Regions from separate parts of the Homo sapiens genome. Here region 2 is linked to region 1. Evidence: promoter capture Hi-C in human tissues and cell types (Jung and others, 2019). All regions are on one chromosome and are shown on one strand. The core of a region is centred on a gene start or on the middle of the fragment in contact, and the rest is flanking DNA. Distances in the headings are between cores, read along the strand shown.

Region 1 (4,600 bases), core at 2,101-4,600:
GTGAACAAAGAAAAACTATTGCTGTGCGGTGATTGCCAGGCAGCCTCTTCCCAGCTGCCCAGGACCTGTCGCCCTTGACATCTCCCTGGCTGTCCCTATACACCACCAGCACCAAGCTTCGCAGGTGCCTGCTGGGTTTCTGGCTTGCATCTCTTCCCTGCGGCCACCAGCTGACGCCTGCATTCACATTCTAAGGAACCCGTCTGTCCCAACCACCACGACAACCCCCTTCCCCCCTACTCTTACCTGCAGCCCACGCAGGTCACAGCCATTAGATCCTTCCCCTGAAGCGCTGCTTCCCTCCTGCCGCACTCAGGGCTCCCTCCTGCCTTCCATGCCCAGGACAGGGCCTCCCGGCCTCTCCAGGTCTCTGGAGCAGAGAGGTTGTGCCTTCCTCATGCGGTCAGGCTCAGGCTGGGAAGGAGCGGCCCAGAGGCGGGGGGAGGCACGGGTGCGGGGCTGCCTCTTCCCCGGTAGTGGACGCTGAAGCCTGTCCACCTGAATTGGAGGCGGGGCGGGGCAGTCGACTGACCGCCAGGCAGGGGAGCAGGGCGCGGGCTCAGAGGGAGGGAGTGGGAGGCCGAGGAAGGACAAGGTGCTTGTGGCGATGAGTATCAGAAGGCAGAGCGGAGCTGCTCAAGAGAGGCTGGCTCTGTGGAGGTGAGGACCTGCAGGTGGGCCTGGCCTCTCTGTGGGATGGTACCCAGGGCAGGAGGAAGAGAAACACCTGTTTAGAGAGAGGGGGAGGGTCTGGGCCAGTTGTGTGCGGACTCTGCCATGGAGGCAGGGGGAACCAGGGCGGGGCCGTCTGTGTAATTCTAATGTCATTTGCTAATGGTGGTTGCCCGCAGCTGGGGAGCAAGAGGGGAGGAGATGGGACCACCCGGCCAGAGAGAGGAGGGGTCGAAGGCCCCCTTGGAGGAAGGGCCCAGCGCACAGGGCCTGCAAGGAGTTGGCCCCTTCCCCACCCACAGCTGGGCAGTGCCCACTGAGATCATCCTCCCTACTTCACAAACAGAGACACAAAGGCCAGACAGCTTGAGGTTAAGGAGCTCGGTCAAGCCCACACCACAGTACAGGGTGGGGGCCGGGATTTGACCCAGGTCCACAGGGTGCCCACTCTCTAGGCAGCACCTGCACAGAACAGGGCAGTGCCATAGGGAGGGGCTGCGCGCTGGGCAGGAATGCATCTTCGGCTAGAAAGAGTCTAGAAGGAAGATCAGAAGTGGCGAGACTGCACAATTAAGAAGTGCTAAGAAGTCACACTGGACAGACCTGGTCTTGGTAGCCAAGCGCTGAAGTCACCCCTGCAGCCGTCCTCCGCTTTGGCGCCTCTTCCCAGCGTCCCTGCCCCCCTCCTTTGGCCCTCCTGGAAAGGACACTTTGCGTTTTCTGTTGCCCTTGCCTATACAGCACAAACATGCTCATTTAAGAAGTGGAACGTGGGAGGCAGCAGACAACTGTGTTCATCTGAAAGGAGGAGGCCCCACTCCCGTGCAGGCGCTGCCCCTGGGGGTGAAATTCCCAAGCTTGTTGGGGATTCTCCCGCCTGGCGTTGCCGCTCTGAATGCCAGCACCTAACCCCTAATGTCCCTACTGCAGCCCTCCCAGCATCCCCCCTGCAACCTCCCAGCAACTCCCTGTACCCCTCCTAGGATCGCTCCTGCATCCCCCATTATCCCCCCCTTCACCCCTCGCGGCATCCCCCCTGCACCCCCAGCATCCCCCCTGCAGCCCCCCCAGCATCTCCCCTGCACCCCCAGCATCCCCCCTGCAGCCCTTCCAGCATCCCCCTGCACCTCTCCCAGGATCTCCCCTGCAACCCCCATTATCCCCCCTGCACCCCTCGCAGTATCCCCCCTGCACCCCCCAGCATCCCCCCATGCACCCCCGGCATCCCCCCTGCACCCCTCCAGCATTCTCCTTGCACCCTACCAGTATTCCCCCGCATCCCGGCCTCCAAGCCTCCCGCCCACCTTGCGGTCCCCGCCCTGGCGTCTAGGTGGCACCAGAATCCCGCGCGGACTCCACCCGCTGGGAGCTGCCCTCGCTTGCCCGTGGTTGTCCAGCTCAGTCCCTCTAGACGCTCAGCCCAACCGGCCGCACAGTTTTCAGGGGTCAGTTCCTCCAAGTACAAGGGGCGGTGGCTTCTCTGGAGCTGCAAACTTGTCACTGCTATTTCCTTTCGGTCTTCTACTTCCTATCGTTCCTGGCCTCCTCTTGGGGAGAGGTAGAGCCCTCTCCTTTCCGCCTCAGGGACAACCCAAAGCAAGTACTGCATGTGCCCTTTTTAAAGTTTTAAATAATTTTAGCAAAAAGGATATTAACATTAAATCAATTTTTAAACTTTTTGAAAAAATTATCAAAACTACATGCACATGGTTCAAAACAATAGGCTCCTGCTGGGCCCTTTCAGATAATTCAAATTGTCACCAGGTTGGAGTGCAGTGGTTCGATCACGGCTCACTGCAGCCTCGACCTCCCGGGCTCAGCTGATCCTCCACCTCAGCCTCCTGAGTAGCTGGGAACACAAGCGCGAGCAACCACGCCCGGCTAATTAAAAAAATTTTTTTTCTAGAGATGGGGTCTTGCTGTGTTGCCCAGGCTGGTCTTGAATTCCTGGGCTCAAGCAATCCTCCCGCCTCAGCCTCCCAAAGCACTGTGCTCCTTTTTGACGCAGCTTTGAACTGTAGCTGGTTAACAAAATGAGAACCAGTTCTTCATTCCTTCATTGTGGAAGTCTTTATTGTGAGACTCTGGGGACGGAGAGGAATTAGACAAGGGCCTCTAAGCTGAGCTCACATCCCAGCCGGTCAGTCAGATAAACGCATGGGTATCGAGTACTGCTAGGTCCCAGGAAGAAAGAGAGAGCAGCTTTCGGGATGGGGACGATGGGGAGGTGTCCGAGGTCAAGAGAAAGCGGCACGAGCAGACCCCTGTGTGCCGTCCTGTGGGCGCGGGGCGGCAGGGGAGGCGCACACCTGCTCCTTTGTGCAGCCTCCCCCCTCCCGCAAAGTTAAAGAGCAGGAAAGTCAGGATTCCTCGCTCGGCCCTGCCCTGCCGGCTGCTCCGCGCTCCGCTCCTCCCTGCGAGCGTGTGTGTGTGTCGGGGGTCCCTCCCCTCCTGGCTCTGGGGTCGGGCGCGCACCCCGCCCCGTAGCGCGGCCCCTCCCTGGCGAGCGCAACCCCATCCAGCGGGAGCGCGGAGCCGCGGCCGCGGGGAAGCATTAAGTTTATTCGCCTCAAAGTGACGCAAAAATTCTTCAAGAGCTCTTTGGCGGCGGCTATCTAGAGATCAGACCATGTGAGGGCCCGCGGGTACAAATACGGCCGCGCCGGCGCCCCTCCGCACAGCCAGCGCCGCCGGGTGCCTCGAGGGCGCGAGGCCAGCCCGCCTGCCCAGCCCGGGACCAGCCTCCCCGCGCAGCCTGGCAGGTGGGTCCGCTTTTCCTCTCCGCCTCGAACCCACGTTTCTTTCCAGACCTTCTTCCCCGCCTCGGGGAGGGGGATAGAACCGCTGCGCCCCACCGCCCTGCGAGGAGGCGAGGAGGTGCATGCGCCCCAGCGGTGGGCGCCGGATCCTGCCCCTGCGCCCTCCACGCTCAGCAAGAGCCAGAGCTGAAGCTGACCGGCCAGAGTGGGAGACGAGGAACGTGGAGTGCTCGAAGTGGGCGGGCGTAGGGGGCTCCTTTGTCTATTGTTGCAGGGGCTTTGCAACCTCTTGAGGACCCGTGAAAGACCCCTTAAAGAGGGTCTTGAGCAAAGTGCTGTCCTGCGCTTTGGGAAGAGTTGCTTGCTTTCGTTTCAACCCATGGTTTATGTTTGATCTTTACTTTGCTGTCATCGCGTGCAGGTGGCTTTATGCAAAGGGAGAGTTCTGGTTGACACAAATGCCCAGACAGCTAGAGAAATCTCTGAGTGGCGCCTAAGTGGGCCGAGTCTCCGTGCGCTTGGGTGGTTTCACTGTCAGAGCTGAGGCGCTCTCAGACACCTCACAGGCCATTCAGAATGTATGTGAAACTCCAACTCCAACGACTGTGCTACGTGGTTGAAGGATATAACCATCATTTGCTTGAAAATTGTGTACATTCAAACTTGTTCTTGAAAAAAAGCTCTCTGGAGCTCAAGAGTGGATTTGGGTCTTGGGCTAAGGAGCAGATTTTCTTCTGAACTGGGGCTTTTGCATATTGAATTGTTCCTTTTCCATTTGGGACTCTGAAGAATTTGAGAGGGGTAGAATTTCTGAATCAGACATTACAAAGACTTTGTGTATGTATTTTTACCATCAGTTTTGTCCAGAAAAGTGAACCTGGTCAATGGATTATTTATGAGCCTGCTAGCTAACTCTCATCATAGGAAGACGAGAGCAAATATTTAATGTGTTTTGCCTTCAGTTACATAGGAAAAATGTCTAAGAAGGTGACATTGGGACTTGTGTTTAATGAAACAGAGAACTGTGGGCAGCGTCAGTGTTGGGTTTTTAGGAGCGTAGGGAGCACACAGCTTTGACTCTTTGTCCCATTACTTGCTTCTGTGTGAAGCCACTGAGGCCCCAGGGTTCGGGTTTTCCTGCCACGCACTCTGGGGTGGCAGTGACCGTT
Region 2 (4,642 bases), core at 1,159-3,658, 310 kb before region 1:
AGGTGAAGGGGAAGCAGGCATCTTCTTCACAAGGTGGCAGGAGGGAGTAAGTGGAGAACAAGGAAGTGCCACACTTTAAAACCATCAGCTTTCCTGAGAATTCACTCACTATCAGGGGAGCAGCACGGGAGGAAACTGTCCCCAAATCCAATCCCCTCCCACCAGGTTCCTCCCTTGACACAGGAGGATTACAATTCCAGATGAGATTTGAGTGGGGACACAGAGCCAAACCTGTGAGGGTCTCAGTCTGTCTTGCAGCTCCCCTGGGGCTGAGGCTGAGTGCAAATCTGCTGGCCCTGCTCTACAGCACGCAGGGTCTCTGCCAGTGCACCCCATCTGCTGCTTCCTGGGAGTGGTGGCTACTTCCTCAAAAGGAGGGTGGATCTGCTCTCCTGTGCACTCCCCCTACCCCCGAGGGACTTGTGGAGCCCTGGCCACATCCTCCCAGGGTAAGGGCATGAAACTGGGCTCCTTGCCCTTCTTACTGCTTGGGTGACAAGCCTGGGGTCATCCCTAGGCCGCGTCACTGCCCCTGCTTCTAAATGGAGAGCATTTTGCCAAACCTTCCTGGGAGAGGCTGGGGGCTCATCCCTGTTGTCTGTTCCATCTTGGTAAAGCCAGGTTAAGACATCTGGGTAAGCAGACAGTAGAGTGGCACCCAGGAAGGGTGGGTGGAGGGCGCTGGCATTTAGGCTTGCCTGGACCATGGTGGGAGGGGGAAGGTTACCAGGAAGCAGTGCTGTCAGGGCTAAAGTCAGGAGGAGGTGGTTATGCTGGTGAGGCAGGGGTGTGGCTGGCTTGCGGTGGGGCATAAATGAGAGCCAAGGTTTGTCAGCATGCAGAAGAGGCAGCTGACTCATCCCTAGGGGCTGCGGAGGAGGTCGGGTCACTCTTGATCCCAGTTCCCAGTGAAAACTGGAGGTTGCCATCACCTAACCACACATGCAATAAAGTCTTCTGCCTGCTGCTTACAGCCCCCGAGAACCTTCTCCGAGAGAATAAAACCTTTGACTGCTGCTCTTCCTGAGTGGATTTTGTTTGTGTCTTCTGATGAACTGTGATGTCCCGTCTATCATTTTCCCAGGCTCAAGGATCCACCAAAAGTTGACGCCTCTTTTGGGGAGGCTCTGCAGTGCCTTCTTCTCACCAGGCTCCCCGGGAAGCTTGTGAACTTGGCTTGCACCCTAAGCAGCCAGGTACACGCAGGGGCTCTGCTTCTTGCTTTCACTAAGAGAGAGAGCCAAGAAAGAGACTGAAGCATGGTCTGCAGAGAAGACACTGGTGCAAACGCCAGGAGAACGAGGGGCCTGAGTCATCTTCATTCCCCTTAAAAACACGCATTCCCTCCCAGGCCACCTTAGGGCATGAAGCACAGTGAGAGTGTGTGTGTGTGTGTGAGTGTGTGTGTGTGCAGGTATATGCACGTGTATTTATGTGCATGTGTGCGTGTGTGTGCGTTCATGTGCATGCACGTATGCATGTGTACATGTCTGCTTGCATGTGTGCATGCGTGTGTGGTGCAGGGATATGAGGTGGACAGGATGTCGGAGGGCAGCTCCAGCTCCAAGCTGCACGTTTCTCTGTTAGAATGGTTTAGATTCCCTGGACCACAGCAAGAGAGTGTTTTCACGTGCATCCATTTTTCTTAGCATTGAAACCCATATTTTTAGCAGCATGTAAACCTTAATTTGCTTAACTATTCTTAGAAGCATTTATACCGGTGGTCCCCAACCTTTTTGGTCCCAGAGACCAGTTTCATGGAAGACTTTTCCACGGACCCGGGAGAAGGGGAAAGGATGATGCGGAGATGATTCAAGCCCATTACATTTATTGTGCACTTTATTTCTATTATTATTTCACTGTAATATATAATGAAATAATTATACCATTCACCATAATGTAGAATAAGTAGGAACACTGAGCTTGTTTTCCTGCAACTAGATGGTCCCATCTGGGGGTGATGGGAGACAGTGACAGATCATCAGGCATTAGATTTCATAAGGAGCACACAACCTAGATCCCTGGCATGCGCAGTTCACAGTAGGGTTCATGCTCCTATGAGAATCTAATGGCACCACTCATCTGACAGGAGACACAGCTCATGTGGTAATGCAAGGGATGGGGAGCGGCTGTTTCTACAGATGAAGCTTTGCTCACTGGCTGGCTGCTCACCTCCTGCTGTGCAGCCTGGTTCCAAACAGGAGGGAACCCGTGATTTATCCAGTAAGATAAATCCATTATGTAAGTTGACATTATTCACTCTGCACCACCCAAAATTATCTTGCATACCTACACACACCCAAGGGTCCGACAGCACACTTTGGGAGCTGTAGACAGTAAGCCTGGAGGTCCATTGCGAATTCCATCTCTTCACCCTGTAGGCTAATAGGCTATGTTAGTTTCCTAGGGCTGTTTTACAGTACCACAGACTGGGCACCTTCAACAACAGAATCTTACTGTCTCACAGTACTGGAGGCCATGAGTCCAAGATCAAAGTGTCAGCAGGGTGGGTTTCTTCTGAGGCTGTGCAGGAAGGTTCTGTTCCAGGCCTGTCTCCTGGCATGTCGGTGGCTCCCAGTCTCTAAAAAACAAACAAAAAAAAAAGAATATGGAAAGGAAAGGTCATTCTGATGAAGTCTCAGATGGAAATCAAGAAGAGGTAAATGGAAACTGGAGGAAAGGTGAGTGACGCTTGCCATAAAGTGGCAAAGCACTAGTGTTTGGTGGAAGGCAGAACTTGTGAGTGATGTAACTGAAATTTGGCAGAAGAAATATCTCAGCAAAGTATTGAAGGAGCGGCTTGATTGTCTTGAACGTTTATAGGAAAATGAAAGAAAAAGAGGAATGATTTAGAGACAGAACTTATAATCAAAAGGGAAGCAGAACTTAAAGATTTGGGAAACTTTTAGCCTTCTCAGCCTGCCCGTTTTGAACAGATAAGAAAGTGTGTTTGGGAGCGAACACGAGGGTGTGGGTCAGGAGGCCTGCGTGGATCAGGGCTGTGCTCCTCACCAGGACAATGGAAGAGCGACCCTGAAGGCATTGTGTGGATCACTCAGGCCGCACTCTCGTCACAGGCCCATGGTGCCAGGGCACTGACGGCAGTACGGTTTCCAAGAAAGGCCCTGGGGCGCCCTGAGGACCCCTGAGGACCTTGGGGCTTGCTGCCCAGCACTCCCTGAAGTCGCTGGTTCCCACACTGTGCTGTGGTGCTCCTTGGCTGCTCCAAGTGTTGCTCAATGGGCCCTGGTGGAGTGGGGGACATGCTATCACCCCTCCAGAGGACACAGGCAGAAAACTCTTTGGAGCATCCACGTGGTGCTCATTCTGCAGGTGTGCAGAGTGCAATAGCTGTGGGATATGGCTGCCTCCACCTGCATTTCAAAGTATGTCCCAGACAGCCTTGGGGTCAGGCAGAAAACTGCCACAGGGGCAGGGACACCACAGAACGTTCCCACTAGGGCAATGCCCAGCAGAGCCGTGGGGAAGAGGCTATCCCCAAGATTCCAGGATGGTAGAGCCAGCAGTGTGCAAGTCCACCCTGGGAGAGCCTCAGGCATCAAACTCCAACATGTGAGAGCTGCTGCCTGGGCTGCACCCAGCAAAGCCATGGGGGAAGAGCCACCTGAAGCCCTGGGCCGCCCAACCACATCCTAGTATATCTGGAACATGGGCCATGGAGTCAAAGAAGGTTCTCAAGTTTTAAGATTTAATGTTCTTTTCCCGGTTGGGTTTTGGACTCACTTGGGGCAACAACAACAACCAAAAACACCAAGCTGAAAGCAAAAAACACAAAATAAACACCTTAACCCTATCCCTCCATTTAATGTAATTCAGGACTCTAACCAAGAAGAATTTCTCAATTTCTCAGCAAAGCTACAGGGCTAATATTCAAACCCGCCTATAAGCAATGCTATTTCTTTTCCTTAGGTAATTATTTTCCCAGAACTCTATAAAACAACTAAAATATTTTTGACCAGAAATTAAACATATAAAAAAGACCATCTAGGCCTTTGCAGCATGCACCTCCAAACTCTTCCAGCCTCTACTCATTATCCACTTGCACATTTTTGCGTATTTTTTAGAGCAGCATTCCACTTCCTGGTATCAAAAATCAATACGAGTTTGCTAGGGCTACGGTAAGAATATACCACAGATGGAGGTCTTAAATAACAGAAATATTGTTTCTCACAGTTCGGGGTCCCAGAAGTCCAAGACTAAGGTATCAGCAGAATCGGTTTCTTCTAAGGCCTGGCTCCTTGGCTTATAAGTGGCCACCCTCTTGTCTGTGTCTCCATGTGGTCTTCGGTCTGTGTCTGTGTCCTCATCTCCTCTCCTTATAAGGACACCAGACAGATTGGATGAGGGCTCACCCATATGACCTCGTTTCCCCTTAATTACACCTTTAAAGGTCCCATCTCCAAACACAATCCCATTCTGAGGCACTTGGGGTTAGGACTTCAACGTATCAACTTGGGGGTGGGGGACACAATTCAGCCCATAACACCCGACTTCTGTGCCCCCAAAACTGCTTAGGCAGAAGAAATGATGGGGTGGCTCACCATGGTCCCTTCAAAGCTTCTGCCCAGAAATGGCACCTGTGACTTCTGCTCCACTTCACTGCTCACAGCAGGTAACATGG

Evidence for each region. The method cuts DNA at HindIII sites, captures the fragments that hold promoters and counts their contacts. A contact is called where the count stands out against the background at its distance.
Region 2: a contact is called between a fragment that was not itself captured here and the fragment with the promoter of SLC6A4 in region 1, in 4 of the 25 tissues and cell types used here (IMR-90 fibroblasts, dorsolateral prefrontal cortex, mesenchymal stem cells and 1 more).

Annotation. Positions count from the first base shown.
Region 1 is chr17:30,234,447-30,239,046 of GRCh38, reverse strand. It overlaps SLC6A4 (solute carrier family 6 member 4), which reads left to right and starts at 3,350. Exons shown (of 15, transcript NM_001045.6): 1 at 3,350-3,434. It overlaps LOC105371720 (a long non-coding RNA gene), which reads right to left and starts at 1,549. Exons shown (of 3, transcript XR_007065698.1): 1 at 1,276-1,549; 2 at 247-727. RefSeq lists an enhancer at 1-718, cis regulatory regions at 1,714-1,756, 1,540-1,781, 2,170-2,209, 2,086-2,910, 1,782-3,271 and 2 more, a silencer at 2,934-3,116 and promoters at 2,617-3,371, 1,526-3,371, 1,552-3,376, 3,272-3,566, 1,782-3,566 and 1 more. The HindIII fragment of the contact is 6,948 bases long and covers 824-4,600 here.
Region 2 is chr17:30,546,870-30,551,511 of GRCh38, reverse strand. No RefSeq gene overlaps it. Among named protein-coding and RNA genes, the nearest start is that of GOSR1, 72 kb to the right of the region's middle. RefSeq lists an enhancer at 1-494. The HindIII fragment of the contact is 6,952 bases long and covers 1-4,642 here.